6 separate regions of the Homo sapiens genome follow, and all the other regions are linked to region 4. The links are contacts of gene promoters, found by promoter capture Hi-C in blood cells and fetal thymus (Javierre and others, 2016). All regions are on one chromosome and are shown on one strand. Each heading gives the region's core, a stretch centred on a gene start or on the middle of the fragment in contact. The rest is flanking DNA. Distances are from core to core; before and after follow the strand shown.

Region 1 (5,198 bases), core at 1,823-4,322, 950 kb before region 4:
TGCAATCTCGGCTCACTGCAACCTCTACCTCCCGGGTTCAAGCGATTCTCCTGCCTCACCCTCCTGAGTACCTGGGAATTACAGGCGCCTGCCACCATGCCCAGCTAATTTTTTTGTACTTTTAGTAGAGATGGGGTTTCACCATGTTGGCCAGGCTGGTATTGAACTCCTGACCTCAGGTGATCCACTCACCTTGGCCTCCCAAAGCACTGGGATTACAGGCGTGAGCCACTGCGCCCGGCCACCTTCCAACAATTCCACTCCTCTTTGTCCCACCAATTCTACTTTTGCTTAGTTATCTTAAGGAAATCATTGTGAAAATATTTGCAACTGTAAGGATGTTTAGCATAATACTGCTTTTCATATTTAAAATCTGTAAGTAGCCCAAACGGGCCAAAACAGGAAACTAGTTAATTCACTTATGATATAACCACAGGATGGAAAACCAGAAAGTCATTACAAACAGTTCATAGACTATTTAGTGAAATGAAAAAACTGTAACTGCAGATTTTTTAAAATTCTTTCGAATAGCTAATATATTTACATGGTTCAAAAATCTAAGCAATATGTGCACACAACTGAGAATTCTCACCATCACCAACTTCTATAAATAACCAATCTTTCTTACCAAAAAATAGTAACACTGTTCTGCACTGTTTTAAAACTTAATGATAAAAATTTGCCATAATAAATTTTCAGTTTGGAAGAAGGTTATACAATAGCAACATAGCAAATAAACTTATTTTTTAAAAACTGTGCAGAAAAAAAGACTGAAAGTTTATAAACCAAAAACTGATGAATTACGTTTTAATTTTCTTCTTTGTTGACTATTTTTTTTTTTTTGAAACTGAGTTTCACTCTTATTGCCCAGGCTGGAGTGCAGTGGCGCAATCTCGGCTCACTGCAACCTCCACCTCCCGGGTTCAAGCGATTCTCCTGCCTCAGCCTCCCAAGTAGCTGGGATTACAAGCGCCTGCCACCATGCCTGGCTAATTTTTCTATTTTTAATAGAGACGGGGTTTTGCCATGTTGGCCAGGCTGGTCTCGAACTCCTGACCTCAAGTGATCCACCCGCCTCAGTCTCCCAAAGTGCTAGGATTACAGGTATGAGCCACCGTGCCCGGCCATGACTATCTTTATTTTCCAAATTTGAGTACTGAGCATGAAATTCTTTAATCAGTTATTTAAATTAAAAGAAAATAAAACTAGAAGCTGATGTTTAAATTATGCTTACCTGCTTCAGGTTTGTTCAAGTCATATATGCGTAACAGTTTATCCTGTCCCCCGGTTAACAAATAATTACTATCCTGAAAACACAAAGTAAAATGTGAATAGATTAACCATTTTAATAGTTATTTCTCTTTCAAATTTCAACACCAAATAAAATCAAAATCTAGCTCACAGACATCACAAAGAGATGCCAAGACATAACCAATTACTTCTGAGAAGATACTGTGGAACAGCTGACCTCTCATAACTGCCAAGACTTGTAAGCTTTCCACTTCAAAAGCGTTACACTACACTACATATACATGAACTCTCCCATTCTCCCCTGATCCTACTCCTCTCCCTTGTGAGAGGCCCTTTTCTGATTATCTCAAATTTATCTTCTCCCTTCTATTAGTAGTTGGGGAAGGCTACTTGAGCTTTTCAGATGTTTTTTACATGTTGAAGGACTGGTACTCGTTCCACAGTATCTTAAAAGCTTGACAGGATTAACTATGAAACAAATTCATAGAGCTTAATACACAATCAAATCAAATATGAACCAAGAAATAACAAATATTCCACACAAAACATATCAATCAAATATACACACCAATCAAGTATAAAAGCATTATCACACTATGTACCAGCAACTTAACTCGCTAAAATAAATTCCATTTTCTGATACCTGCGTGAAATCCACAGTCTTGACAATGTGTTTATGAGCCAGGGTCATCAATTCATCTCCTGAGACAGCATCCCACACTTTGCTAAAAGTAAAAAAGAGAAAATTAGTAGGATAAATATTACCCAATATATTAAAAGGATAAATACAATTATAATATTGATGAGTACCAAATAAGTTAGATATGTGAAATGTTACATAAATGTATTATAAATCTCCTTTATCTCTAATATCCCTCACAGACTTCATTTGATAAAATATTTAAATAAGCTTAAGGGAAAAGAAATTTCTCTGTAAAAACTTTATAACCAATCTAATTTTCTTTGACAGTGGAAAAGATATGAACAATTTAAGCAAGTAAGATTCATGAACCAACCCATCCTCCTTACTTTTATTTTAGCTGACAGCCATAATATCCCTTTAGCAAGCCTGTCATACATTTTAACCAATTTTTAGTTTCACCATGCCAATTTTTTCTCTATTCTCCACTCAGATGCACAATAAAAAATAAAAATAAATAAAAAAACCAGAAATCCTTAAAAATGTTACAAGGGAATGAAAAGCCTTGGTACAGGCTAAGTAAAATTTTAAATTAAGATAGTGGAGAGACAATGTCCACTTCATCTCTTCTTCAAAGCTGACTTAAAATTTCAAACTCTAGTACAGTTAACTTCCCCCAAACTATCAGCCTTTGATTATATAATGCTAACACTGACTATTTTAATCTTTACATTGTTTTTTCTGTCCCACCCCACCCCAAAATACAAGTTGGTTATAGGTATACATACATTTATATGTGTATGTATATTCTGGGCGGGTAATAGTTGAGCAATACTTTACAAAATTACTCTAAAAGGGTTCCCCCAAATAAAAAAGCTTAAGGAAGGGGGAAAAAAAAGTTGATTTTAGATCAGAACAGGTCAGTGAAAAATAAACAAGAAAACTTTGCAGACAGGGAAAAGAATTGCTAAGAGTGAAAAAGCTATGTTCCATAGAGATTTCCATTTTAATGCAACTGCTATTTATTTTCAGGAACACAGTGGGCAATAAAATGGTAGAGGGAAAAAAATCAGAGAAAAGCAAGATGTATCTTTTCTTTTGCTTACCCCAATACATAATAAAATATATTAAATATATATCATTCTATACTTAGTGCTAAGGCACAAATGGGAGACAAAAAATACCCCACAGTAGGTTCTTGCCATAGTAGAGCTTTAGCTGAGGAGAAAAACATGCATTAAATATCACATTTAAGAAATATAATTAAAAGACATATATATGGCTATAAAAACTCAGAAAAAAGCACCTAGATATTGTCCAGAAAATGTAAGTAACAGAGCTAGCCGTCGGAAGAAGCAAAGAGAAATATATCAGGGGAAAAAGAAGGGAAGGCTATTCTAGATAAGCATTAATAGCATGTGCAATGTGGTTAATGAATATGAAAGACCATCTAACAGGAATGCTCATGATACACTACCAAAGCTTGCAATATTTAATAATGTGGGTCATGTGAGTGGCTGAATAAATATGTTCTGAAAGAAATAATGTCAACTATAAGTAGCCTTGCTGCTAAACTCCCTAGTATTCATTTCTCTTTGCCCAGGAAACTTGCTCCTCTCTCTGTCATTCCAATGCAACTCTCTGGCCCCAATCTACTTTCCCAACCTCATTTTGTATTGTTTCTCTGAATCTAGCAACACTAGATTATAAACCACTCCTCAAATAACTTACGTATTTTCTTCCAGGCTCCTATGTTCTTGTTTATATTATTCTCTTAAGTCTGTATTTTACATTCTTAGCTATTAAAGTTCTACTCACCCTTAGGGCTCATTTCAAATGCTATCTTTTCTTTGAAACTATTTATCCTCAACTCCAATAATTAACCATTCCTTTCTGTTCTCCCACAGAACTCCACTTATTACGGTGCTTAAATTTGCTTTGTTTTTTGTTTACATATATCCTTAATCACAGTGAAATGCATTTCATGGTTGTGGTAAGGGTTCACAAGTATTAGAATGACAGAAAGCATCAAAAGTGAAGAAAACAACAAATGTATCTAAAATTACTATTCTAATTATTCACAAGTCTCCAAAGAAACCCGGGCAATGTCCTTTGATATGCTAATTTCAAGTTTATTAAATAATCTCCCATAAACTTAAAACCTCTCTCTCTTTTTTTTTTTGAGACAGGATCTTGGTATATTGCCCAAGCTATACTTGAACTCCTGGCCTCAAGATCCTTCCACCTCAGCCTCCTAAGTAGCTACAGGCTAACGCCAACATGGCAGCTCTAAAATCTTAAGATTCTGCTTAGACTGTGTCTATTCAAAGGTGAGAAGAGAGTTGGAGTGACCAAAGTAGTAATATTAACCAGAGAGGTAATGTGTCTGTAGTTTTTCCTCCTATTTAGAAACAGTACTAAAATAGAGGCATGACATTTTCTGACAGGGCATGTACTAACTCTGGCAGATTTCCATTATTCACAGTAAGAGCCCTAAAATGGATCTAATCTAAATGTTTCCTAATGTATTATTCAATCTCCAGGCAAGAAATTGACATATATTAGTTGGCCACAGGGCTCAAATCAAGACAGTAAAGCGCTATTAACAATACCCTTTCAGCAGCTAACCCTCCAACATTTTCTTCACATCCCACGAAGTACTTGTCATCTCCTTAAACTACTGTTACCTCTTATACCCCAGTTTCTTGCAAATAATAATGCTGCCTGATACTTTCCATATCCTCAGAATGAACTTACCGTAAGTCTCATAATAGGAGCTGCTTAACTTACTTATTTAAACCTTCAACAAAACAGGCCAGTTTAAGATTTTTAAAAAATTGCCCAAATACCTTAACATGTTGACCAAGTCATCTAGGAGATAATACCATTTTCGATTTATCAAGAACCTTATTAAAACTAAAATTAGATATTTCTATTGGCTTTACAAGAAAGAAAGAGTGATACATTGTGATTACCTATAAATTCCTGGACCCAATCCCAGATCTACTTAAGCCCTCTTGGGAGCACAGCACAGAATTGTCTTTACTTTGGCACTCTTCCCAAATAGATACAAAGAGATGGTGTTTTAGGGACACTGTACTCAACACTGGACTCAATTGCCCGAATTACTCCAAGATAACATTCTACACTAGTCCACAGACCTATTCTGCTAAATTTCTCCACAAGAAACGGGACCAAATTCCACTTCTAAATGACCACACCATAAATGAGTTTTCCAAGAAACGTAAGAATGGAGGGAAAAAAAAATTGTTTCTAAAAATGCTTTATACCAACCATGACTAATCAG
Region 2 (4,795 bases), core at 757-3,256, 600 kb before region 4:
TTTTTTTTTTTTTTTTTTTTTTTTTTTTTTTTTGAGACAGAGTCTCAGTCTGTCACCCAGACTGGAGTGCAGCGGCGCAATCTCAGCTCACAGCGACCTCCGCCTCCCGGGTTCAAAAAATTCTCCTGCCTCAGCCTCCTGAGCAGCTGGAATTACAGGTACCTACGACTACACCCAGCTAATTTTTGTAGTTTTAGTAGAAACAGGGTTTCACCATGTTGCGCAGGCTGGTCTCGAACTCCCGGCCTCAAGTGATCTGCCCGCCTCGGCCTCCCAAAGTGCTGGGATTACAGGCAGTGAGCCACTGTGCCCAGCCTTACCTATATTCTTTAAGGCTTAGAGATAGCAAGTATAATATCTTCTTCTGTGAATCACTAGATGGGTTGATAGTTTTAGTACCTTAAGTAACTTCTAAAGATCAATAGAGTTTTTCAGAGAAAGCTCCCATTTAACATTACTTTCTTTTTTTTAAATTTTTAAAAATTTGCATATGTTTATGGGATACTAGTGTAATTTCGTTACATGCATAGATTGCATAGTGGTGAAATCAGGTCTTTCAGGGTATTCATTACCCACATAACATACATTGTACCTACTAAATAATTTCTCATCATCCACCCACTTCCCACCCCCTCACCCTTCTGATTCTCTTCACTTAGTTTCAAAACAAATATCTGAATACCTCCTTTTCAGTGGTTCCAGGAGCATGTGCTTTTACTTAGCATTTTTATTTTGTTAGGAGTCATATATTGCAAAATTCTTAGAATAAGATCAGCACTTTCATTGCATCATTAATCTTGCTGCTTTTATTCTGAACTCAGGTATGGAATGAAATTCTAAAAGTTGAAGGAGCATAAAAGATCATCTAGCCCAGACTCATTTTATAGATAGGAAGCTGGAATTCAGAGGGTCTGAGTTACTTTGCTATGGTAACACAATTTGTTTGTGAGGGCAAGAACTGGGATCCACACCTCTGGACTCCTAATCAAGGGTCCTTATTACACCTGTTTTCCTCCCAATCAGCGAGTTACCCAGTCAGTTGCATATAAGTGGGGATGACCAGGCCTCCAGAAAAATTCCTTTGCTTAGAAGACCAACTTTTCCAGAGTGGGCACTTGCTTGTGTATTTAGGTCAATGCCAGACTTCACAGTCATTGCCCTATGTGTCCCTCCTTCAGATTCTTCCAATACATTGGAGAGAATCATGTACCTGCAGAATATGCAGTACCTTATGATGGGCAGGAGAAATGCCTTTAGAGAAGTGCTAAAGTGGGCCGGGCGCGGTGGCTCACGCCTGTAATCCCAGCACTATGGGAGGCACTTGCGGGCAGATCAAGAGGTCAGGAGTTCGGGACCAGCCTGACCAAAATGGTGAAACCCCATCTCTACTAAAAATACAAAAATTAGCCAGGCGTGGTGGTGCGCACCTGTAATCCCAGCTACTTGGGAGGCTGAGGCAGGAGAATCGCTTGAACCTGGGAGGCAGAGGTTGCAGTGAGCAGAGACTGCACTCCAGCCTGGATGACAGAGTAAGACTCTGTCTCAAAAAAAAAAAGAAGCACTAAAGTGGTTTGGTATGCCTCTGGGCAGTTGACAAACCATGGTGACACTCAGAAGACTGCAGTGAGGAGGGGTATATTGAGGCGAGGGATTGGTTAGTGTCAGGCCCAGGTACAGAGCCATGGGACTGTGGCATGGCTGTCACTGAGAACCTAAATCAGAAAACAATGCTTGCATGGGGCTGCTGGCCATGGAGGTATATATCAGAAGAGTAGCATGGCAGGTATTGCCCCCTGCAAACCTAAAGAACATGCATGTGTTTATCTTACAAGAAGTCAATCAGAAGAAACCATCCACAAGCGGCTATCATGATCTTCACTCTGCTCACTATCCCATTAATGCCCATACTGTCTGTTTGTCTGTCATTGTCTTCCTGAAGATATATCCAGACCCAATCCTTCCACTGGATCCCCGGGTTCCATCTCCTCTGCTCCAGTCAAGGACATCACACCAAGTCTCACCTCTAACTATGCTGCATCAACAGTTTTCTCTGTTTTGTTGGATCATTTTGCTTAGTCTACAGACAAGCTGTTTTCACTCACTTAAAGAAAACAAAATAAAAACAAAAAACTACCAAAAATTCTTGGATTCTTCTATTCTTTAGCTCCTGTGCATTTTAGATTTTTTTTTCCCGTCACCATGGCACCCAAATGCCTCTTCTCAAAATCACCAGTGACTTCTGGGCTGCTAAGATCAGTGGTCAATTCTCATTCCTCATCTTACCAGATTTGTTCACAGGTTTGACCTGGACAATCTCCACTCGCTGAGGCTTTCTCTTCCCTTGGCTCCTGGGACAGGACACTTTTCTGTGCTCTTTCTTGCTTCCCTGGCCAATGCTCCTCAGTCTCTTTTGCTGGTTTTTACTCACCATCTCCATGTCTTAAAGTTGGAGTGGCCCAGGGCTTAGTTCCTGGATAGCATTATTTTTTCTTTATTGAGTCTTTGTTAACTCATCACATCTGTCGCCTGCCTACACTCAAATTTATATTTTTAGTCCTGAAGTCTTCACTGAATCCAAGCTCCTTTATCTAACTGCCTGCTCAGTATTTATTTAATGGTTTCATAGGAACCTTCAAAATGTTGACCCACCCAGACCTGAACTTCTGACATTGCCCCAAACCAGCCTGTCCCATAATCTTTTCCAAGTTAATAAATCAAACCTCTGTCTTTCCAATTGCTCAGGCCGCAAATCTTGCTGTGTCTCTAGGCTGCTTTTACTCATTCATAGACAACATCTAAGTCCATCAGCAGATTTTCTCAGCAACACCTTCAAAATAAATTTTGAATCTGACCACTTTTCATCGCCTCTGTGGCTCCCAGTCTGACCTAAACAAGTATAATCTCTTATCTGGACAGACTCAGTGTTCTCTAAACTTTAAGGTGACCATGTAATTTATCAAAAATGTCCACACGGGAACACTTTTGGGGCAGAAAAGCCTTGCCCCAAATCCTAAAGAGGATTACTGCCTTTTAAATAATCCATAAGAGTTGCAAAGTGGTATTGTCTAAGGCAACAGGGATGTATGGTCATATTACCTAATTGGCTCCTTCCTGCTCTTATCCTTGCCCTGAACAATCTATTATCACCAGAGTGACCCAGTGAAACCCGTTAGGTTATGCGCCTCTGCTTAAAGCATGCAATGGAGAATCATCTCACTCACAGGAAAGTGTCTTTTCAATGACCCTACACGGTCTGTTCCCTTGCTACCTCTCTGCCCTGTATCTATGGCTCTCTACCTTGTTTGTTCCATTGCAGCCACACTGCCTGCCTGACTTTTCCTTGAACTTGCCAGGAACACTATGCTTCCATAGCTGGGCACCTGTGGTTCCTTCTGCCTACAGAATCTCATCCCAGTGATCTCTTTGGTTTACTCCCTCATCTCCTTTAGGCTCTGACTCAAACATCACCTTCACAGTGACACTTACTCTACTCCTCACAAAAATTGCACCCATCCCCCACAGCACTTCCTATCCTCTTTTCCTCTTTCACTTTTCTCCATGACACTTATCACCATTTAACATTCTTATATTTATGTTTATCATCTCCTTTTCTCCATTAGAATGAGGGTTGACATTTTTGTCAGTTTTGTTCATTTCTGTATGCTCAGAACCAAGAATAGTGTGTGGCATATAGTAAATGCTAAGTAAATATTCTCTGATTCACAGGATGAATAATTTTTTAAAAAAGTATAAGACCTTAAGCATTTTATTAGCTTCTTTCTAGCTGACTGGCAGCCTACAGATTTCTATGTATCTATAACCATATTTGAGAGAGACAGAGAGAAAAAGCCTACTATCCCCCAAATACTTAACATTTCAAAGTATTTTGATTTTTTTCTTGTCCATAGCCAAATTATGTTTTAAAGATTTCTAATCTCTATAAAGGTTTGTATGAGTAAGATTAAGAAAATCAAGCCAATGTCCCTAAGACCAAATTCCAAAGAGGAACGGAAAGTCACAAAAGTGGGTATGAGGCTCCTCCCTGTTCTGTTAAATTTTTTAATAGAAAAAATGAAGTTTGAAGGAAAAAGGCCACACCCCAGTCCAGGAATAGAAGCAGCAGATGGATAAAAAGTACGAAATGACTGTTTCTGGACCAAGACCTAGCAATGTATAAAGCGTGTCACATTTCTCTAAGCGCCAGCTTGTTCAAATGAGGACATAGCACTGAATTATCTCCAAAAGCTCTCCTAGCACTAAAGTTATATGATTCCTTATCTCGAACGTGCCCGAACATGTCTGTGGTCAGGATAAAGCATAAGTTTGATGATGGTGGTGTGCAATTCTGTTTTTGTTTTGTTTTGTTTTGTTTTCTCTGACCTCCTTAGCTGTTCCTTTCCACTCTCTCTTTCTGATGCTTCCTGCTAAGCTGAATTTCTAACTGCTGGGGTGGCTCCTCTAGAGTTGATCCAGGGCTTCTCTTTTCTTCCCTGTCTTTACTTACTACTTGGTGATTTCATCCAGACACTTCCAAATTTATATTTCCAGCCCAGAATTCTCCCCTGGCCTTCACATCTGCACCGGGATATCCAATAATCATTTTAAATTTGTTTACATCCAAAGAAGAATCCTTGATTCTTACTTCACCCTAAATGTCCTCCTCCTGTAGTTTTACTAGTCATCTCAATCTCAGTGAATTGCGCCACCATTTGTCCTAGTTGCTCAAGGGTGAAGCCTGGGAGTCATTAATTTCCCTTTCCCTCACTTCGTGTTTCTGCCGTATCAGAAAGTTCTG
Region 3 (5,141 bases), core at 791-3,290, 970 kb before region 4:
GCATTTCAGTTTAAACCTGTTTGGATTAAGGATTAATACCCGTGAAGGAAAAAAATCTGATTTTAACAAATAAGATAATAAATACAAAGCTATGATCATTTCGATAGCTGCATAAAAACCACATTTACTATTGTTCTACCTGGCAATTATTTATGTCTATTACTTTTCAACAAATGAATGGAAGTGATTGATTCTAATTACTGCAAATAAATAAATTTAAAAATGGTTCAATTATGTTTTTTGAAAGAAAAATTTAAAATGTCTAAGTTTTGGGAAATTTAGGGCACATCCTTGATGTATGCATAGTCACATGGTCATATTCCTGGGAATACCCAGGTAAGACACCACCCCAAACCTGCCCCATATCCACCACCTTCAAGGATATTCCAATCTAAGAAATAATGCCGTTATTACTAAAGACCACGTTCCAGAGATAGGACTAGAGTTTAAAACATAATCAGCTAGAGGACAGTGACTAAAACAAAATCAACCAGGTTAGTAAATCAACTGTCTTTAAAATGATAGATTTACTCTCTTACCATTCGACAAAAAATCCAGAACACCTCTTGGAAGTGCAGACTGTTTAAGTACCAGTCACTTTTAAGGAGGGCGAAAAGGACCTACCTGTATGTGTTACATATAATTTACAGCCAATTTTCTCAAAATTAGCCCCTAAAACCATAACTCCATATACTAATACTATCTATACTGAAGACTTACTAGGTGTCCACAATATACCAAACTACTTTACATGTATCCTATTTAATCTCCTAACGGCCTTATAAGGTAACTACCACTAAAATAACCATTTTACAGATGAAGAAACTTAAGCGCAAAGTTATTAATTTGTCCGAAGTCACACAGGTAAGAAGTTAAAGATCCTGGATACACAGATATCCAAGCTATAATACTTAAACGAGACGCTTAAACCTTCTCTTGATCATGGTTTTGCTGTTTGAATTATAAATTTTTCACATGTTAAGAAATCTGAAGAAAAATTCTCTTCTGCCTTGGGATCCTGTTGATCTGTGACCTTATCCCCAACCCTGTGCTCTCTGAAACATGTGCTGTGTCCACTCAGGGTTAAATGGATTAAGGGCGGTGCAAGATGTGCTTTGTTAAACAGATGCTTGAAGGCAGCATGCTCGTTAAGAGTCATCACCACTCCCTAATCTTAAGTACCCAGGGACACAAACACTGCGGAAGGCCGCAGGGTCCTCTGCCTAGGAAAACCAGAGACCTTTGTTCACTTGTTTATCAGCTGACCTTCCCTCCACTACTGTCCTATGACCCTGCCAAATCCCCCTCTGCGAGAAACACCCAAGAATGATCAATAAAAAAAAAAAAAAAAGAAATCTGAACTAAGGTTTCTTGCCAGTATTTGAACAATATAAAAAAAGATGAAAACTGGGAAATAATACAGGTACTTTAACAAATCTTTGTAACTCTAAAATCCCATGAATCTGCAGTGTTACATTTTGAGCACAGACGGCTGACAACTTTTCCACGAGCACGGCCACTTCAAGGTTACGGTTAAAATTATCTACGGAAATACTGCATTAAATTACACAAGTATTCTATTAAAAGGAGGAGAAAGAAGGTTTTTATCTGTTTTTACCTGCTTGGGGGTTGTTTGTTTTGGGTTTTGTTTTTTGGGTTGTTGGGTTTTCCAACCAGCGAGCTAGAGTGAACGAAAAGGCAGGAAGATAATAATCTAACCCTTTCCTACTCCTTCCGCATACAAGAGTAAAAGCTTAGGTGCAAAGACAAGCGGCGCGAACGTGCCGGGTTCGGCCTTTACTTGGGGTGAGGGCTGACCAGACGCCACTGCTTCCCGCCCCAGCGAAAACCCCTCGGGGACCCACAGCCAGGGCACTGGGCGGCAGCAGGCCCCGCGCTAGTCCCGGCGGCGCTGAACGCGAGGGAGAGGGGATGGGGAGCCCCGCGGGCCCCTTACCGAGCTCGGTGCCCCGATTGTGCGCGGACATGGCGCGGGCAGCTCCGGAGCTGCCGGCTGGTAGGCGCCCGCCTCTGCGCCGCGCCCGGCCCTTCCTCCTTCCCGCCAGCTGGAGCGCTCGCCCCGCCCCTGCCCGCTCCCGGGGCGGAGTCGCGGGCCCGGGCTACGAGGTCTGTACCCTAGGAATATTGCTCCGCAAGGAAATCTCGCTGCTCCCCTCCCCCGTCTTCTCCACGAGGTACCGAACCGGAGCGCTAAGTAGCTCCCGGAAATAATGCTACCAACACCCTTTAAAAAATACTGAAGTTGCCAATTGCACGTAATAAAAATATTCCTAGAAACTTTTAACTGTAAGATTATATAACAAGAAGGAAGAAGATCCAAGTGCAGAGCTCTGCAACTTAAGGTCTGAAATGTCAGCAGGGATCCCATATCCTTGTTAGGGAAACCAAGGTGCAATCAAGGGCCCCGGGGCACACTGACTTTTCTAATCTACACATCATGAAAAGAAGCAGCTATGTGGCCTGAAGAAGGCAAGGGCTTAGGAGTCAGAAGACCTGGTTTCTTAGCCAAGCTCGGGCAATAATTAAATGTGTGACCCTGGGCAAATTAACTGCTTTTCCGAGCTTCATTTTTCTCATCTGTAAAAGAAGACCTTGACAATTTCTTGGTTCTTCAAAATACTATGATTCTATAAAGGTAAAATGCTTCAGCCTGATTTCTCTGTGACCAAGAGGTTAAAATCGTCGAGTCACTCCACAATCTCAATATAGTTAACTTATCTGTACTCACGTTTAGAGGCACCTCTGCTATGAAAACAGTACAGTTAGTTATGATTTGTCTACCATGAGCCAGTTATTGTGCTAGGTGCTTTCATACATCATATATAGATGTATGATAGCATTTGAGTCTCTGAACAATCCTGCCAATAATGTATTTTATCTCCATTGCTGTAACTTTAGACATCAAAGTTCTGAATAGAAAGGCATCCTGGTATAGGGGAAATACAGTGAGCTCAAAATGAGCTGAACCCATTAATATACCAGCTCTTCCATTTAATAAATGTAACTTGGCAGTTCTGGAAATAATAGTCTGTCTACTTACCTGTAAAGTGGAGATGATCAAAATATGTTCACCTTGCAAAGCTGTTGAATGTATGCAAGGCACCTAGTACATAACATGGCATACAGTAGATACTTAAAAAATGGAAGCTGTTAATGTTATTGTCAAGTTCACACAGTAATTACTGAGCTGTTTTAAATAGGAATAGTAATATTTGTATACTCCTCTACATTGAGCTTTCAGCCTTGTCCACACACAGCCACTGTTGAATGTTTCGGATGTGTGTAGATCTTACTCATACATACTATAGCACTTTTCTTTTTTATATTAACCTTGAAAAAGAGAAAAGCAGGCCCTGAAAGCCTGGAGCTGGCCTGAAACTCACAACTGGACCATGGTTTTCCCTGGTTAAACGTATACAATTTCACAGCACAGCATCAGCCAAGGCCATTGTGACCACAATGAATCAACAAAAACATAATCATAATCATGTCTGATAATAGAAAACCATGAATATTGTTCAAATAGCCCCTATCCTAGCTATTATGACTTCTTTACCAATCAGTTCTAGCTTCACTCCATTCCTATGTTTTAGATAAGAATTAAGATGCACTACTATCACCAGTTCCTACCATCATCCAGTCCAGATCCTTCCTTGAACTTTCCCCAAATCACCTACGACAGGCCCAAATCCTATGTAGTTTCTAACATCCTCTTACTGAGACACCTCACATTAGGTGCCCATGGCAAGCATTCTCCCTTGTTACAATGTCAATAAACACAACTTTGTCCACTTGTAGGTGTGTTACTGGTGGTCTCTGGCTGGAGATCATTCACATCTCTAGAAGATACAAAGGCAATACATGAAATTCTATTTTTAGAAGTAAACACAACTCCAAACCAGATTCCATACCATTCATTACATAAATGTTTGTTTGTTTGTTTTTAAATTGTGATATCCTAAATTAGTTGAAAAATCAGAATTAGGGCAGCCTCTTAAAGCAATGTTTTAGCAATGTATCAGTCAAGAATTTCTCAAGGACTTTTTCTAAAATGGACCTGTTGAATGTATTAATCTCAAATTAATCTCTGCAGTTTAAAAGTATGTTAATTTGGCAACATTAGGAGAGACAGCAGGGATAGTATGCAAAAAATGAGTTTCTTTCACAGAGAAATGTTCCTATATTTCATTTTGTGAAGATTCCTTTTACATTTATTGCCTTATGAAACTTCTGAAGTATCCCTAAGGCAAGTCCCCTCAAAGAAAGAGCTATAGACCACTACATGGGAATCACCCAAGAGCTTTTTCTAAAGCAGTTCTGGGCTTCCTCACAGCCCTACTCAATCAGAGTATCTAGGACCCTGGAATCTGTAATTTTAATATTTCTTCAAACAATGTTTATGCAAACTAAACGTAAAGAACCACCAATGAGAAGCAGAGGAAAATAAACTATGCATGCCAATCTGGAGCCATAGCCCAAACTGACTCTTACAAGAGTAAAATTGCTTTTAAAGTATTACATGTTGTATTTTTTAAGCCATGTAAATTTTGCATGCTATTCCTATTCATTGATGTTTTTCAATGTAAATTTTAAACTGCCAAATAAATTACCTAATTATCCTCCCACCCTCACTCCTCCTTTAATTAAAATTAAAGCTCTAGGAATATGTAATATTTATCTTGAAGCTTCTAAGAACCTACCAGTCCTGGGAGATAGGAGTAAAACAAATTTTAAGGTCCAAAGGGCATAGATCATTTGTGTTTGGTTCATCATATGTAGGATCTAGTACAGTAGTTGGCAATTAGTAGACTATAAATATTTGTTAGATGAATGAGTGTATATTGCTGTCTTTGCTACTTTTCTTATACTGCCTACTGTTTTATCCAGTCAAATTTCATTTGATATAGTCTCTACTCCTATGATTTCTAAGAGCAATTATTCACAAGTTCATTAGGTAAATAACCACTTAGACTACAAACTGTCAGCCAGCATTTCTAGGTCAGATGGAGAAAAGTGTAGGAGCAGGGAGGACTATGAAAAATTGTGAATATTAGAGTCAAAATATTTTAGAACTGGAGGGAGACTAATAGAACATCCAATTCCTAGTTCATGGTAAAATA
Region 4 (5,117 bases), core at 2,154-4,653:
GGATGGGGATGAGGAAAACACACTGGAGGAGATATTTACATCTTTGGGAACAAATTGGTCCCCTATTACACTATAATAGGCAATGCACATTCAGAATACAGCCAGTGGGAAATCTACATTTTACTTATTTAGTTAGCTATTTTTAATTTCGACTTTTATATTAGGTATAGAGGGTACATGTGCAGGTTCGTTACATGGGTATATTGCATCCAGGTAGTGAGCCTAGTACTAAATAGATAGTTTTTCAAAAAATGCCCCACTCCCTCCCTTACCCCTCAGGTAGTCCACAGTGTCTACTGTTTCTATGTTCATGTCTATGTGTGTTCAGTGTTTAGCTCCCACTTATAACTGAGAACATATGGAAGTTGGTTTTCTGTTTCTGCATTGCTTTGCTTAGGATTATGGCCTCCAGCTTCATCCATATTGCTGCAAAGGACATGATTTTACTTTTTTATTATGACCATATAGTATATCATGGTATATATGCACCACATATTTTATCCAATCCACCATTAATGGGCAACTACATTAATTCCGTGTCTTTGCTATTGTGAATGGCACAACAATGAACATACATGTGCATGTCTGTTTGGTACAACAATCTACTTTCCTTTGGATATATACATAGTAATGGGGTTGCTGAATCAAATGGTAGCTCTGTTTCAAGTTTTTTGAGAAATCTTCAAACTGGTCACTCTCCATACGTTCGTAAAAATATTATGCCTTGGAATGCTAACGTTACTCCTAAAAATTGGAGTACTCTCCTTGGCCTTACTGTAGAGATAAAAGGTATAGATGTCCTCATTACTTAGAGTTGCTTTCCACAGTGGCTGAACTACGTAACTGCTTAAGCTACATCCCCATGAATAATGTATAAGCATTCCCTTTTCTCTGCAGTCTCACAGTGTCTGTTGTTTTTTGATTTTTTAATAATGGCCATTCTGACTAGTGTGAGATTGTATCTCATTTTGGCTTTGATTTGCATTTCTCTGATAATTAGTAACGTTGAGCATTTTTTGTAGGCTTATTGGCCTCTTGTGTGTCTTCTTTTCAGAAGTATCTGTTTATGCTCTTTGCCCATTTTCTATTGGGGTTATTTGTTTTTTGCTTCTTGATTTGTTTAAGTTTCTTATGGATTCTGAATATTAGACCTTTGTTGGATGCATAGTTTGCATATGCTTTCTCCCATTTTGTAGATTGTCTATCAATAGTTCCTTTTGCTCTGAAGAACCTCTTTAATTAGGTCCCACTTGTCAATTTTTGTTTTTGTTGCAATTGCTTTTGAGGACTTAGCCAAAAATTACTTGTCAAGATTAATGTCAAAAAGAGTATTTCCTAGGTTTTCTTCTAGGACTTTTATGGTTTGAGGTCTTAAATCTTTAATTCATCTTGAGTTAACTTTTTATATGGTGAAAGATGAGGGTGCAGTTTCATTCTTCTGCATATGGCTAGCCAGCTATCACAGCACCATTTATTGAGTAGGGAATCCTTTCCCCATTGATTGGTTTTGTTAACTTTGTCGAAGATCAGATGGTTGTAGGTATATGACTTTATTTCTGGGTTCTCTATTCTGTTCCATTGGTCTATGTGTTTGCTTTTGTACCAGTACCATGCTATTTTGGTTACTGTAGCCTTGTAGTATAGTTTGAAGTTGGGTAATGTGACGCCTCTGTTTTTGTTCTTTTTGATTAGGATTGCTTTAGCTAGTCAGACTCTTTTTTGGTTCCATATAAATTTTAGAATAGTTTCTTTTCTAATTCTGTGAAGAATGACGTTGGTAGTTAGATAGGAATAGCACTGAATCTGTTAATTTCTTTGGGCAGTATGGCCATTTTGAAGATACTGATTCTTCCTACCCATGAGCATGGAGTGTTTTTTCATTTGTGTCACCTCTGATTTCTTTCAAAAGTGTTTTGTATTTCTCCTTGTAGAGATATTTTACCTCCTTGGTTATCTGTATTCCTAGGCATTTCATTTTATTTGTAGCTATTGTAAATGAAATTGTGTTCTTGATTTTACTCTCAGCCTGGACATTATTGCTGTATAGAAATGCCACTAATTTTTGTACACTTATTTTTTTCCTGATACCTTACTGAAATCATTCATCAGTTCCAGTAGCCTTTTGGCAGAGTCTTCAGAGCTTTCTAGGCATACAATCATATTGTCAACAAGGAGAAATAGTTTGACTTTTTCTTTTCCTGTTTAGATGCCTTTTATGTCTTCCTCTTGCCTAATTGCCCTGGCTAGGGCTTCCTAATTTCTTTTGTAATATTTTCACATGAAAATTCTCCTAAGCTTAAAACTACATATCCCAATGCCTGTGGAAATCTCATCTTGGACTTCCTCAGACACTTGTGAGCAAAATCAAACTTCATCTCATTCTTCTGCTTAAGACTTTTCAGTGGTTCCCATCACCTACAGAATAAAATTGATGCTCCCGCGCTTAGTGTATCATATAAAGCCTGCTGTGAGCTGGTCCCAACATGCCTTTCTGTCCACATGTATCACTTCCTTCCTTTTCATCATTCTCAATTACTAGTAATTCTGTCACACATTATATTTGCATATCTGTGCTTTGGTTCTTTTTTTTTTTTTTTTTTTTTTTTGAGACGGAGTCTCGCTCTGTCGCCCAGGCTGGAGTGCAGTGGTGCTATTTCGGCTCACTGCAAGCTCTGCCTCCCGGGTTCAGGCCATCCTCCTGCCTCAGCCTCCCGAGTAGCTGGGACTACAGGCGCCCGCCACCACACCTGGCTAATTTTTTGTATTTTTAGTAGAGATGGGGTTTCACCATGTTAGCCAGGATGGTCTCAATCTCCTGACCTCGTGATCCACCTGCCTCAGCCTCCCAAAGTTCTGGGATTACAGGTATGAGCCACCACGCCCGGCCTGTGCTTTAGTTCTTTACATGAAACTCCCTTTCTACCTTGTGTTGCCTGGCAAAATCTTACTTACCCAGAACTCTGCTCCGGCATCCTCCGCAGGAAGAACACTTTCATTGAACCCTAGCATTGTCCCTAATACCCTTAATATGTATTGTCATAGCACCCTATGAATTTTTCTATATCACTTTCCATCTTATATTTAAATAATCTTTTTACTTGCCCATCTCTCCCACTGATAATCTAAGCTGGCAGAGGCTGGATCAGATCATAATTATCTTTCTATTCTTAGCGCTAGGATCAATGCCTGGCATAGCATATTTACATTTTTTATTTAAATAAACTGACCTGACTTTCTTCTGGTTGGATATGTTCTGAGTCCCTATTACTAACCTTGGTCTTTTATCTCAGAAGTTGAAGGCTCCCCTGGAGCCAGCTGCAAAGTTCCCAAAGCCCTAACAACCCCACAGCCAATCAGCTACAGAGTAGGCTGCCCTGAGTCGGCCTCCCCAACACAAAGTCCAGGGTTGGAGCAGGAGCAGGAGAGGGACAATGGAAGCTGCCCCGTCCAGGTTCATGTTCCTCTTATTTCTCCTCACGTGTGAGCTGGCTGCAGAAGTTGCTGCAGAAGTTGAGAAATCCTCAGGTAAAAGAAAAATGTAGTTGGGTGGCTATAGTGTGAAAGTGTTATTAGGAGAAGGAAAGGGAGCATGGTGGTTCTCTGGGTACTTTTCCTCCACACCTAGAAAGCTTTCCAGGAAATCCTGGATAAGTGCATTTTGCCTGGTAGAGAGTAGGGAAGTCTGGCAGTATCCTTCAGAGACAGACCATCAGTAGGGTCACCTTCCATATGTTAGTAAAAATATTATGCCTTGGAATGCCAACAGTACTCCTATAAATTGTGCTCTTCTTGCCCTTAGTATAGAGATAAAAGGTATAGATGCCCTCATTATTTAGAGCTGCTTCTTCTTGCCTCAGTACCCTGACATCTTCTGCTTCTCTCTCTAGATGGTCCTGGTGCTGCCCAGGAACCCACGTGGCTCACAGATGTCCCAGCTGCCATGGAATTCATTGCTGCCACTGAGGTGGCTGTCATAGGCTTCTTCCAGGTTAGTTCCCTACTTGCAATTCCCCCAAGAGCCAGAAATGTTCTACCTTAAGGGAACCACAGCAGCCACCTGCTGCTGGCAGATGGCACTGCATTAGAAGTGGGGGTAAAGGGAGACAGCCACCCAGTTTGATTTCATCTTGTCCATTGGGACCTCTTATTTTCAAGACATTCCCAGTCTCTAAATTATATCTTTCTCATACTTACTTCAAGAGTTCTGAGCCTGTGGGCTGCATCTCCTCATCTATGGATGCTTTGAAGCTCAAGTCAGTATCTGCAGAAAGAATGCCTTCATGGAACCCCACCATTGTCCTAAACACATTTGGTCTATACTCTCATAGCACCCTATGAATAGGCAGGGGCCAGAGTGAACCCAATTTATATCATCCAGCAACACTGTTTACAGGATGCCAAACATCCTGGACATTAGTCAGTGCACAGCCTTTTAAAGCCTTTCCCCCAAATATGGTAGACTCTCCTTCTTTCTCTTTGCCTTGTCTGAAATGTTGGAAAATGATGGCATTTTGTATATTCAAGGTGTTAACCTCCATCTTCCAGATTAGCTTCTTGACTAAGAAAGGCAGCCATAAATGAGACTGCCTCATTCCAGCATTTTCATCTTTCTCTGGTGGTAGCATCTGGAAATCCTCACAGCTGATCAAGCCCCTACTCTCTCATAGCAGACCTTCTTGTCTGTTTCCATTTCTCAGTTACAACTCCTGATTACCCTGTCAGTTCTGCGTACACAGTTGGAAATCACTGCAATGAGATGCAAGTCAGGGAGAAAGACAGGGACAACATTTTTCAGGAATGAGAAATCTGAGCTGTAGACAAAAACACCGTCAGAAAGATGGGGAAGGGGCAAGAGCATGGAATTGGAGGAGTGTGCAATAACTTAAACAGCCGCCAGATGCCATCATTTTATCCTCCAGCAATTCCATCTGAAGGAGCAGAATAAGAGAGGAGGCCTCAATTAATTATTGTTCATGGCCTCTAGAAGAGTAGATACCAGCTCCCTCTGCTTGACCCCAGATGCAAGACGGGTATGTTAGTTTCTTCTCATGCTGCCAATAAAGACATACCCAAAACTGGATAATTTATAAAGGAAAGAGTTTTAATTGAATCACAGT
Region 5 (4,912 bases), core at 486-2,985, 620 kb before region 4:
ATAGTTAAAAAGAAACTTTCCTTTTTGTTTACTTCTTGAAAGCTAACTTTTAAAGAGTTTGTGTTAAACAGTAAAAAAAAATCACTTACCAAGGATTAATATAAAATGCCAAAAGATAATCAGTCCAAAGACATGAGGGTAGCAGGGTTAAGAAAGCAAATATACTCCTACGCCTGTGTGCATTAATAGACAACAGATGGAAAGATGAAAAAGTTGCAAGAGTTAGTAATATAAACTGTGAATAGATATCAGTAAATTACCTATTGGGATTAATTAATATGACAAGCACCTTAATTACAATTAAATATTAATCCATTCTGTGAAATATAAATGTGCGGGCTTAAATGCTACAATATTGACAAAATCAGTTTTTATTCACACATGACCTTATTGTAATCAGATATATTTCTTTCAACTTACTTTGTGTTAATTAGTCTGCTACCAGGTGATTACATTTTGCATTCAGTTAAATGAAGCACTTATATGCCTCATTAGTTATCTTGAAGCTTATTCTTGGATATTATTCTTCCTATGCTTAAGCCTATTTTAAGAAACCTCTGTAACATCATTTGACAGCTAAACAGCAGCTTGTGTGAGAAAATAAAAATGGTCAGTTTACATATACTGATTCCGGTGAAGACTAAGCTTTTAAGAGACATTCTTAATAAAGCTGCACTACTAGGTGTGACTTTCTGTATTGTTTTTAAATTACTATAAAATTTATAAATATAACCCTTAAAACAGAGGTATGGATGATACAAGGATATCATTCATTCAAGATAAGTAGCTCATCAACTACTTAGTCTGTGACCTCACTGATATTCAGCTAAGTAGGAGCAAAATAGTTTAGCTTCACTTCAATTCTAATTCAGACTGTTGATTTAAATGCCTGGTTTCAGATATTCAAACCACTTGTCAAATAGAACACCCATTAATATAGATTTTAAAATATCCTGTGACTGCATCTATAGTTATTCTGAGAATTAGGGGGAAAAATACTGTCACCTTGTCACTTCAGTTATTACAAATCTTCACTGAGATATCTATTCTCAGTCAGCTAGAAAATGCTAGAGTCGGCAAAACTGTCTTTGTGAAGAGCTGCAAAATGTGCTTGATTTTATAGAAAGATCCTGAAGTGAATTCTTTTTTGCTTCAGCTCTCCCATGACTGGTCTCCCATAAATTCCATGAATTGTGACTGGCTGTGAAGTTAGTTAATATCTATCTCTCATGAGTCACAAGTATTAAATACATATAATTGGATTGGTTCCTAGATGGGCCACTCATCACTGATCTCCCATTGGGCCTCCCAAGGGTGAACCAGGCATGAAACAAGTATCAGTGAGTCAACCTCTTAATTTTGGAAAGAGTGCTAATATATTTGAACAAACCTAGTAACGTTTCCTAACTTTTCACCATCAAGGGTTGATGGATTTCTTTTTCTTCACAGTTGGGTTGTTTTTTAATAGCAAAATTCTACTCATGTTAAAATTTTTAAATGGCACAACATATTGCCTTATTAAAAGAAATCTGGTTTCAACTAGATTTTCAACTAGAGTGAGTATCAGCTACACTGAGGGAAGTAAAATTTATATCCTAAATAAAGTTCTCCCTCCCTCATTGATTCTGTAAAATTTCCAGTCTCCCATGTGTATTTCTTTAAGATTAACCATTTTAGGGAGTTAGTAAACAGAAAGAAATAACTGAACAATGATTAATATGACATATATTCATTTACATATACTTTGCATAGTTTCTTGCAAAAGAAACAAACTAGACCATGTAAGTAGTACATGTTAGCTTCATGTTAAATGTTTACTTAATTAGTACTTTTGTTGGGCATTGATTGAACTGGATAGGATTGTTAATCTTCATCTATCATTGTCAGGTATAATGTCAACCAATTTAATCTCTTGACAATGCTCTTTAAAATTCGAACACTTCCTCCTTCCGGGTCCTTAATACTCAAGCATAAAGAAAAATGAAGCCATGTTTTCTTATGAAACTTCACTGGCTTTGATATTTATTTATCTGTAAGCATGAGAACTGAATACTGGGCTGTACAACTTTTTAACAGAAGTGGTGGCTCTTATTGCCTCAGGCACTGAAATGTGAGTTTAAAATGGAGATGCTGGGTTGGCATGGGGGCTCAGGCCTGTAATCCCAGCACTTTGGGAGGCCGAGGTGGGAGGATCACTTCAGCCCAGGAGTTCGAGACCAGCCTGGGCAATATAGTGAGACCTCATCTCTACAAATATCTAAAAATTAGCCAGATTTGGTGGTGCGCGCCTGTAGTCCCAGCTACTCGGGAGGCTGAGGTGGAAAGATTACTTGAGCCCAGGAGGCAGAGATTGCAGTGAGTTGAGATCATCCTGCACTCCAGCCCGGGTGACGAAAGAGGGAGATTCTGTCTCCTCAAAAAATACAAAACAATAAAAAATAAAATAAAATAAAATATAAAATAAAATGGAGAAGCCGATCTGTCGCAAGCTGCTTCATTGGAATCTCTTCTCGTGCCTTTAGCCACCACTTGTTCAGCGGCGCTCCTGCATTTAAGCCCTTTTTCAGCACAGGTATGGGCTCCTGCGTGTGCACCACTGTTTCAGTCCCTTGTTTAGTATTGTAAATACAGAGCAGACCATGATGCTTTCCCTACTTCAGAACTGCACTGAGCTTATATAAACCATTATATTCTGTGAAGATCTAGCCATTGAAAGTCTACCATCACCGAAATTACAAAAGGATAATCAGACAAAACTATCCCCAAAGGATAGTAAAATCGACTTTGGAGCACACACAGCATAGTTAAACTATGTAGAAGCTTGTTCCAAAACAATACTCACCAGTTGTATGGAAGCTTTCCATCCCTCTCTAAGGATGCAAAATTGACAAATGTACCAGCTCCACACTCCCTGTTTTAAAGGAACCACAAAATCAAGGTTACTGCTTGACAAAGCATTCTTACGTTGACCTAAAAGTAAAGAGAGTCTTTACCAGCTTATCATCACAGCATTAAATTAAAAAAAAGAAGAAGCTAGGCCAGGTGCGGTGGCTCACGCCTGTAATCCCAGTACTTTGGGAGGCCGAGGTGGGCGGATCACCTGAGGTCAGGAGTTTCGCCAACATGGCGAAACCCTGTCTCTACTAAAACTACAAAAATTAGCTAGGCGTGGTGGCACTTGCCTGTAATCCCAGCTACTCGGGAGGCTGAGGCAAGATAATTGCTTGAACCTGGGAGACAGAGGTTGTGGTGAGCAGAGATCGCGCCACCGCACTCCAGCCTGGGTGACAGAGCAAGACTCTGTCTCAAAAAGAAAAAGAAAAAAAAAAAAAACAAAATAAAAGAAGCTAATAGAAGTTCCATATGTTCCCTTTTGGCATACAATGCAAAACAGAAAGCTAAAACGAAAAGAAATAATCTTTTGCAAGTTTGCAAATCAAATTATTTGAGGCCAAAAGAATTCACTTCACAATCCTTTCCAAAGGGCATTCATGATTCTAAAAGAAATATTTGAACTATTTGGGGTATAATATTTATTTATTTTTTTACAAAGCCTTTAATAGTAACATAGAAACTCTCCTAGATGAACTGAGCATTTTCCATCTTTAGCAAAAATTCTTTGTAGGGTTTTGTTTATGGCATTTTGATTTCCTCCCTACAATGATAGTGGATCAAGTGGATTGTTTACTTCCTCCAAAATCTTTCTCTTATATTGTGATGCCCGTATTATTCATCACTGGAGATTAGAATAAAAGAGTGGAATGTATTGAAATAGGCAAGCTTCTGGTGTGCCTACTGTCCGGAATGTGGCCTATTAATCTGCTAGTAAAAACACTGTTGAAGTTTTTTTTTTTTTTCCAGAAGTAGAGAAAAAGTAAACATATTCTCATGCCTTCTCTATCTTTTGGCTAATTTCATGCATGAATAACAGCTCATTGGGGCTCATGTATCTCATTTTTTCTTTATACGGAATTAATGGATTTAATACTCAGAACTGAAGCAGAGATTTTAACATTACTGGCACAATGTGCTAATTACTTGAATTATCTACCTGTTCTTATTAAGGTGTTCCAAGAACAATTTTCTTCTTTTGAAAAATACACTAATATAATATCATAGTGTATTATAATTTACACATCATTAATGAATTTTCCTATGTCAATTTCCTATATATGGGATTTATTTTACCTGTAACTCAAGGGTTTTAATCTGGAGTTCCAAAGATAGAATTTAGGACTCTATGAACATATGTGGGAAAAGGGTACATATTTATTTTCACAACCTGTGACTAAACTTAGCAGTCCTTTCTATCATTAAAGTAGGTACCAAACCATCAGAATATCCACATGGATGATTTGCTAACAATAGAGATTACATATTTTTTAATAATAGACTTGCTGCAGATATCTTGAAATATTGGTCATATGCATCACCATGATGAAATTGTTAGACTATTACATATTGACATTGAATATACTAATTAAAAAGTGTACAACACATTTGCTTTTTAAATATTATGATTATCATATTTCAATATAGTTGTATAATCCTATGTATTTTATTTTAGGCACAGAAAATGGAAGCATTATTCTTAGAAGAGTTCACCAGACTGCCAAAAAGGATCATAGCATGAAAAATGATGAGAATCTATGCTTTAATAACTAGCTGAAAGAATCAGAACCACCTCTCCTAAATATCTTTGGTATGTACCACAAAAAATGCTCAGAAATACCACTACTTGCATTACATCTATTACCACCTCCTCCACCATTACTATTATGAGCTAACATTTACTGCACACTTCCTATGAGTTGAGTATTACGCTATGTTATTACTGCGTTAATGCTCCTAAGTATCCACTAATATAGGGGCAATTATCATCTCTTCTGCATACACATTGTTCCCCTAGCTT
Region 6 (5,203 bases), core at 1,169-3,668, 680 kb after region 4:
TTTGTGAGATTTAAGAGTCATCAGTTATTGTGGGAAGGCACACAGTATATGCTACACGGGATTTTCCAAAATGTTCAGTATCAAAGGGGATTCAAGAAGGGTAGAGGTCAAGCCATCCAAACTGGCCCTCTGATTCTTAGAGATGCTTTTATTTTAGGATCTTTGCATTTTTCACTCCACCTTGAAATCTCCACCCTCCCCCCCCACCCCTTATTCCTCTCTCCTTTCACTGTCCTCTGAGTTCCTCCTACCCTCTGGTCAAGCTTTGCCTTCCTCAGAGGCCTTCCTGAATGCTTGGTCCAAAGTAAATTCCTTATACCTTCTTATCATCTTACATGGCAACCTCTTTTTTTCTGTTGTAGCACCACTGTAACTTACAATTATATATATTTGTTTTCTTGTACATTGGCTCTCCCCCTTCACCCGCAACTAGCTTTCTAAGTACCCTTGGGCCGTGTCTGTCTGATCAAAACTGTATAACAAGCATAGGACCTGGCAAAATGTTAGCAAGGAGCAAATATTTGTTGAACAGATTAATTAAATTCAAATATTATTTCTCTGGTCCCAGTCCACTACTTTCTGGCTTCTTCTTTTATACCAGTTAGTTCTTTTACGATTCAGTCTGTTTTCTTACTCTTGTGAACTTTCAGGAACAACTGATTTATTTCAGGGTTCCTCTTTACATAATGAGAGCTACTGAGTAGAATAGAATCTTCACAGCTTCTGGGGGGTACCAGAAAGATGCCCAGAAAGGGGGTACCATGGCCATTACTGGCACCTCAGACAAGGGCAGGCTTCAAACAGGGAGGCCTGTGGCAACCCCTCCCCTATGTCTGAAGCTGAGGGGATGGGGGAGCTAAGAACAAAGGAAAGAAGAGAAAAGTGTCCAGGGAACAGGTGGGGACCATGGTCTTCTTGCCCCATCTTCCTCAGGGGTTGGGGGGTACAGAGTTGGTGGTGGCCCATCCTGCTAGGTCCCACTGCCCCTCAGAAGAGGCCCCAGTCCTTCAGGTTGTTCTTGATGATGACGTCGGTGATGGCATCAAACACGAACTACGTTCTTGGTATCGGTGGCGCATGTGAAGTGTGTGTAGATCTCCTTGGTGTCTTTGTGCTTATTCAGGTCCTCAGACTTACTCTGGTTGTAGCTGGCTGCCTCATCATACTTGTTGGACCCTGTGTACTCAGGGAAGCAGATGGTCAGGGGCTGTGTGTGATCTTCTCCTCCAACAGCTCCTTCTTGTTGAGGAAGTAGATGATGGACGTGTTTGTGAACCACTTGTTGCAGATGCTGTCAAACAGCTTTTATCCCCTAAGAAAAGACACACTAGTCTTATAATTCTTACCGTCTGTGTTTTCTCATCTGTAGTACTTGATTTTACTCTGAGATGGAATTCAACTTGGGTTTTGGTTTCTGAGTCTGGAGTCATGCACATGGTTTTCCCCCTTCCATCTTTATCAAAACTGTCCCTATCACCAGAGGGAAAGGATTTACCAATTCCTCCTTTAAAAGAGTATCCTGGCGGCCAGGCCTGGTGGATCATGCCTGTAATTCCAGCACTTTGGGAGGCCGAGGTGGGTGGATCACCCGAAGGTCAGGAGTTCGAGACCAGCCTGGCCAACATGGAGAAACCCTCATCTCTACTAAAAATACAAAAATTAGCCAGGGGTGGTGACGGGCGCCTGTAATCTCAGCTACTCGGGAGGCTGAGACAGGAGAATTGCTTGAACCCGGGAGGTAGAGGTTGCAGTGAGCTGAGATCATGCCATTGCACTCCAGCCTGGGCAACAAGATTGAAACTTCGTGTCACACACACACACACACACACACACACAACGGGCATGGTGGCTCACGCCTGTAATCCCAGCACTTTGAGAGGCCAAGGTGGGCCGATCATGAGGTCAGGAGATTGAGACCATCCTGGCTAACACAGTGAAACCTCACCTCTACTAAAAATACAAAAACTTAGCTGGGTGTGGTGGCATGCACCTGTAGTCCCAGCTACTAGGAGGCTGACGCAGGAGAATTGCTTGAACCCAAGAGGTGGAGGTTGCGGTGAGCCGAGATCGCGCCACTGCACTCCACACTCCAGCCTGGGTGACAGAGCGAGACTCTGTCCCAAAAAAAAAAAAAAAAAAAAAATGGATCCTAGCTGGGCGAGGTGGCTCACGCCTGTAATCCCAGCACTTTGGGAGGCTGAGGTGGGTGGATCGCTTGAGGTCAGGAGTTTGAGACCAGCCTGGCCAACATGGCAAAACCCCGTCTCTACTAAAAATATAAAAATTAGCTGGGCATGGTGGTGGGTGCCTGTAATCTGAGCTACTAGGGAGGGGATACAGGAGAATCGCTTGAACCCGGCAGGCAGAGGTTGCACTAAGCTGGGATCGTGCCACTGCAGTCCAGCCTGGGTGACAGAGCAAGACTCAGTCTCAAAAAAAAAAAAAAAGATTCTACTCCTGGCCAGGGACTCATCCAAGCAGAAGTCTAATGCCACAGAATTTCAAGTAGGCAATTTGCATCTCTGAAAACCTTCAGATGAGAGAGAGAGAGAGGGGCCACCAATTCACTGGATTTCAGCCCAACACAAGAGTAATGTCTTTGGGGCTTTTTTTTTTTTTGAGACAGGGTCTCACTCTGTCACTGATGCTAGCTAGAGTGCAGTGGCCTGATCCTGGCTCCCTGCAGCCTTGACTTCTGGGCTCAAGTGATCCTCTCACCTCAGCCTCCAGAGTAGCTGGGACTATAGGCATGCACCATCACACTTGGTTATTTTTTTCTATTTTTCTTTTTTTTTTTGAGACAGAGTCTCACTTTGTTGCCCAGGCTGGAGTGCAGTGGTGCAATCTCTGGTCACTGTAACCTCCACCTCCCTGGTTCAAGCGATTCTCCTGCCTCAGACTCCCTAGTAGCTGGGATTACAGGTGCCTACCACCAAGCCTGGCTAATTTTTGTATGTTTAGTAGAGATGGGCTTTCGCCATGTTGACCAGGCTGGTCTTGAACTCCTGACCTCAAATGATCCACCCGCCTGGGCCTCCCAAAGTGCTGGGATTACAGGCATGAGCCACCATGCCTGGCCTATTTATTTTTTTATTTTTTCACAGAGACAGGGTCTCTCTGTGTTGCTCTGGCTGCCCTCAAACTCCTGGCTTCAAGTGACTCCTACCTCTGCCTCCCAGTGAGGTGGGATCACAGGCATGAGCCACTGTGCCCTGCCTGGAGCATTTCTTCACCTAAGCAAATTAGCTGTTCTAAAAGCTGTGCTAGGTGTTGGAGGACATTTGAAGCACAGCTTTATTGTGTATTTATTGCAAGGTTTTGATTGACTCGTTGTGAAACTGGTAGGATTTCCCTAACTGACTACAAAATTCTGTGACTTTCACTTCTTTTTTTTTTTTTTTTTTTTTTTGGGATGGAGTTTCGCTCCTGTTGCCCAGGCTGGAGTGCAATGGCACGATCTCAGCTCACCACAACCTCCGCCTCTGGCGTTCAAGAGATTCTCCTGCCTCAGCCTCCCGAGTAGCTGGGATTACAGGCATGCGTCACCACACCCGGCTAATTTGTGTTTTTAGTAGAGACAGTTTCTCCATGTTGGCCAGGCTAGTCTCGAACTCCTAACCTCAGGTGATCTGCCCACCTCAGCCTCCCAAAGTGCTGGGATTACAGGCGTGAGCCACCACGCCCGGCTGACTTTCACTTCTTTTAACTGGTTCAGGGTAATCAATAGTTGAGAGACCGAATATTGAGGTCAGAAAAACTCAAAGCTCTGAAGCCGTGGTTTCCTCATCTATTTTGTTTTTTCATCTATAAAAATATCTCTATAAAGTTGTAATAATCATTATAAGAGCAATTACATAGCAATACTTTGTGCCAGTTTACTGTTATGATATATATGTATATATAGTATGTATAAACCACATTGTATATATAAACTGTTTTCCTCATAGCCACCCTTTGGAGAAGGTACAATTGTTCCCATTTTATTTTTATTTTTTATAGTTAGGATCTCTGTCTGTTGCTCAGGCTGGAGTATAGTGGTGCAGTCATAGCTCACTGTGGCCTTGAACTCCTGGGCTCAAGTGATCTTCCTGCCTCAGCCTCCAGAGTAGCTCAGACTGCAGGCTTGTACCACTGCTTCTGGCTAATTTTTAGATTTTTAGTAGAGAGGAAGTCTTGCTATGTTGCCTAGGCTGGTTTTGAACTCCTGGACTCAAGTGATCCTCTCGCCTCAGCCTCCCAAAGTGCTGGGATTACAGGCGTGAGCCCCTGTGCCTGGCCCATTGTTCCCATTTTCTGCTGGGGACAAGGAAACACAGAGAAGTTAGGTAACTTGCCCAAGGTCACACAGCTAGTAGAAGGCAGAACACAAACACAAACCCAGGATGCTTGAGTCTCTACTTTAAAAATCCTAGTGCTAATTACCTGGCACAAGATAAGTGTTGTTAAATCTTAGTTTCTTTTTATATCCTCCCTTGAACTTTCACGAAAAATGGTTATTCCTTCTTCAAAGTATCTTAATACAAAATTAACCCCCTGCCTTTTCAGATGAGGAAACGGAACTCCAGAAAGCTTGAACCATGTGTTTTGTGTGGCCAGATAGGACTAGATCCTAGCTCTCCTGCCTAATCTGGGAAGGAATAATGGTTCTCCATATTATTGTGTTCCATCTACTTCCTTCCTTAAGTATGGTTTTGTTCTTGTTATTTTTGTACCATTTTTGAAAAGAAAGGAAAATAATTTCCTTCCTGAATCTCACTCTTATCTCCAAATTGTTTTCTGCAATTAAATAACACTCGCCGTGCTGACAGAGGCATAACTAAATGGAATGTGCTGCTTTTCTACCAGAGTGCACAAAGGGAGTGAGCAAGAGTCTATCACTGCCAAAGTGAGGAGAGGAAGACTAGTTGGCATTCATTTTCTTTCTCTCTTTTCCATCTTCATCCCTTCCCTCCTTGTTTCTGCCTCCAGCTCTCTTTTCCCTTACCTGGATTAGGAGTATGGGACTATTGCTGGTGTCACCCTAATAAAAATTCAAAGATAGGTTAATAAGAGATAGTGCCCAGAGATGGGTAGTAAGCTAGGGTGTCAGTAGCTGCTGCCTGGTCTCTTTTTTTTGAGACAGGGCCTCACTCTGTCACTCAGGCTGGATGGTAGTGGCGCTATTAAGGCTCACTGCAGCCTCAACCTCCTGGGCTCAAGCAAT

What was found. Contacts are between HindIII fragments. The CHiCAGO score rates a contact against its expected background, and 5 or more counts as called.
Region 1: a contact is called between a fragment that was not itself captured here and the fragment with the promoter of ERP27 in region 4, in 5 of 17 cell types (naive CD8 T cells, total CD8 T cells, non-activated CD4 T cells and 2 more). The highest score is 9.1, in naive CD8 T cells.
Region 2: a fragment that was not itself captured here is called in contact with the fragment with the promoter of ERP27 in region 4 in 5 of 17 cell types (non-activated CD4 T cells, total CD4 T cells, naive CD4 T cells and 2 more); the score reaches 10.1 in non-activated CD4 T cells.
Region 3: the fragment with the promoter of DERA here is called in contact with the fragment with the promoter of ERP27 in region 4 in 5 of 17 cell types (total CD8 T cells, activated CD4 T cells, fetal thymus and 2 more); the score reaches 8.2 in total CD8 T cells.
Region 5: a fragment that was not itself captured here is called in contact with the fragment with the promoter of ERP27 in region 4 in 2 of 17 cell types (non-activated CD4 T cells and activated CD4 T cells); the score reaches 5.9 in non-activated CD4 T cells.
Region 6: a fragment that was not itself captured here is called in contact with the fragment with the promoter of ERP27 in region 4 in 6 of 17 cell types (activated CD4 T cells, naive CD8 T cells, total CD8 T cells and 3 more); the score reaches 8.6 in activated CD4 T cells.

Annotation. Positions count from the first base shown.
Region 1 is chr12:15,886,706-15,891,903 of GRCh38, reverse strand. It overlaps STRAP (serine/threonine kinase receptor associated protein), which reads right to left. Exons shown (of 10, transcript NM_007178.4): 3 at 1,895-1,976; 4 at 1,235-1,307. Among named protein-coding and RNA genes, the nearest start is that of STRAP, 6.9 kb to the right of the region's middle. The HindIII fragment of the contact is 606 bases long and covers 2,770-3,375 here.
Region 2 is chr12:15,535,000-15,539,794 of GRCh38, reverse strand. All of the region lies in intron 12 of PTPRO (protein tyrosine phosphatase receptor type O), which reads right to left. Among named protein-coding and RNA genes, the nearest start is that of PTPRO, 210 kb to the right of the region's middle. RefSeq lists an enhancer at 3,633-4,795. The HindIII fragment of the contact is 6,409 bases long and covers 1-4,795 here.
Region 3 is chr12:15,908,231-15,913,371 of GRCh38, reverse strand. It overlaps DERA (deoxyribose-phosphate aldolase), which reads right to left and starts at 2,040. Exons shown (of 9, transcript NM_015954.4): 1 at 1,958-2,040. The coding sequence starts at 1,988. RefSeq lists enhancers at 862-1,605, 1,606-2,350 and silencers at 1,753-2,102, 2,123-2,182. The HindIII fragment of the contact is 2,953 bases long and covers 1,756-4,708 here.
Region 4 is chr12:14,936,823-14,941,939 of GRCh38, reverse strand. It overlaps ERP27 (endoplasmic reticulum protein 27), which reads left to right and starts at 3,403. Exons shown (of 7, transcript NM_152321.4): 1 at 3,403-3,525; 2 at 3,888-3,988. The coding sequence starts at 3,432. RefSeq lists an enhancer at 3,888-3,947. The HindIII fragment of the contact is 1,334 bases long and covers 2,298-3,631 here.
Region 5 is chr12:15,555,454-15,560,365 of GRCh38, reverse strand. It overlaps PTPRO (protein tyrosine phosphatase receptor type O), which reads right to left. Exons shown (of 27, transcript NM_030667.3): 16 at 2,843-2,911; 17 at 90-173. It overlaps LOC105369672 (a long non-coding RNA gene), which reads left to right and starts at 4,455. Exons shown (of 3, transcript XR_002957403.2): 1 at 4,455-4,702. The HindIII fragment of the contact is 2,175 bases long and covers 648-2,822 here.
Region 6 is chr12:14,251,016-14,256,218 of GRCh38, reverse strand. It overlaps the pseudogene GNAI2P1. Among named protein-coding and RNA genes, the nearest start is that of ATF7IP, 110 kb to the left of the region's middle. The HindIII fragment of the contact is 4,306 bases long and covers 266-4,571 here.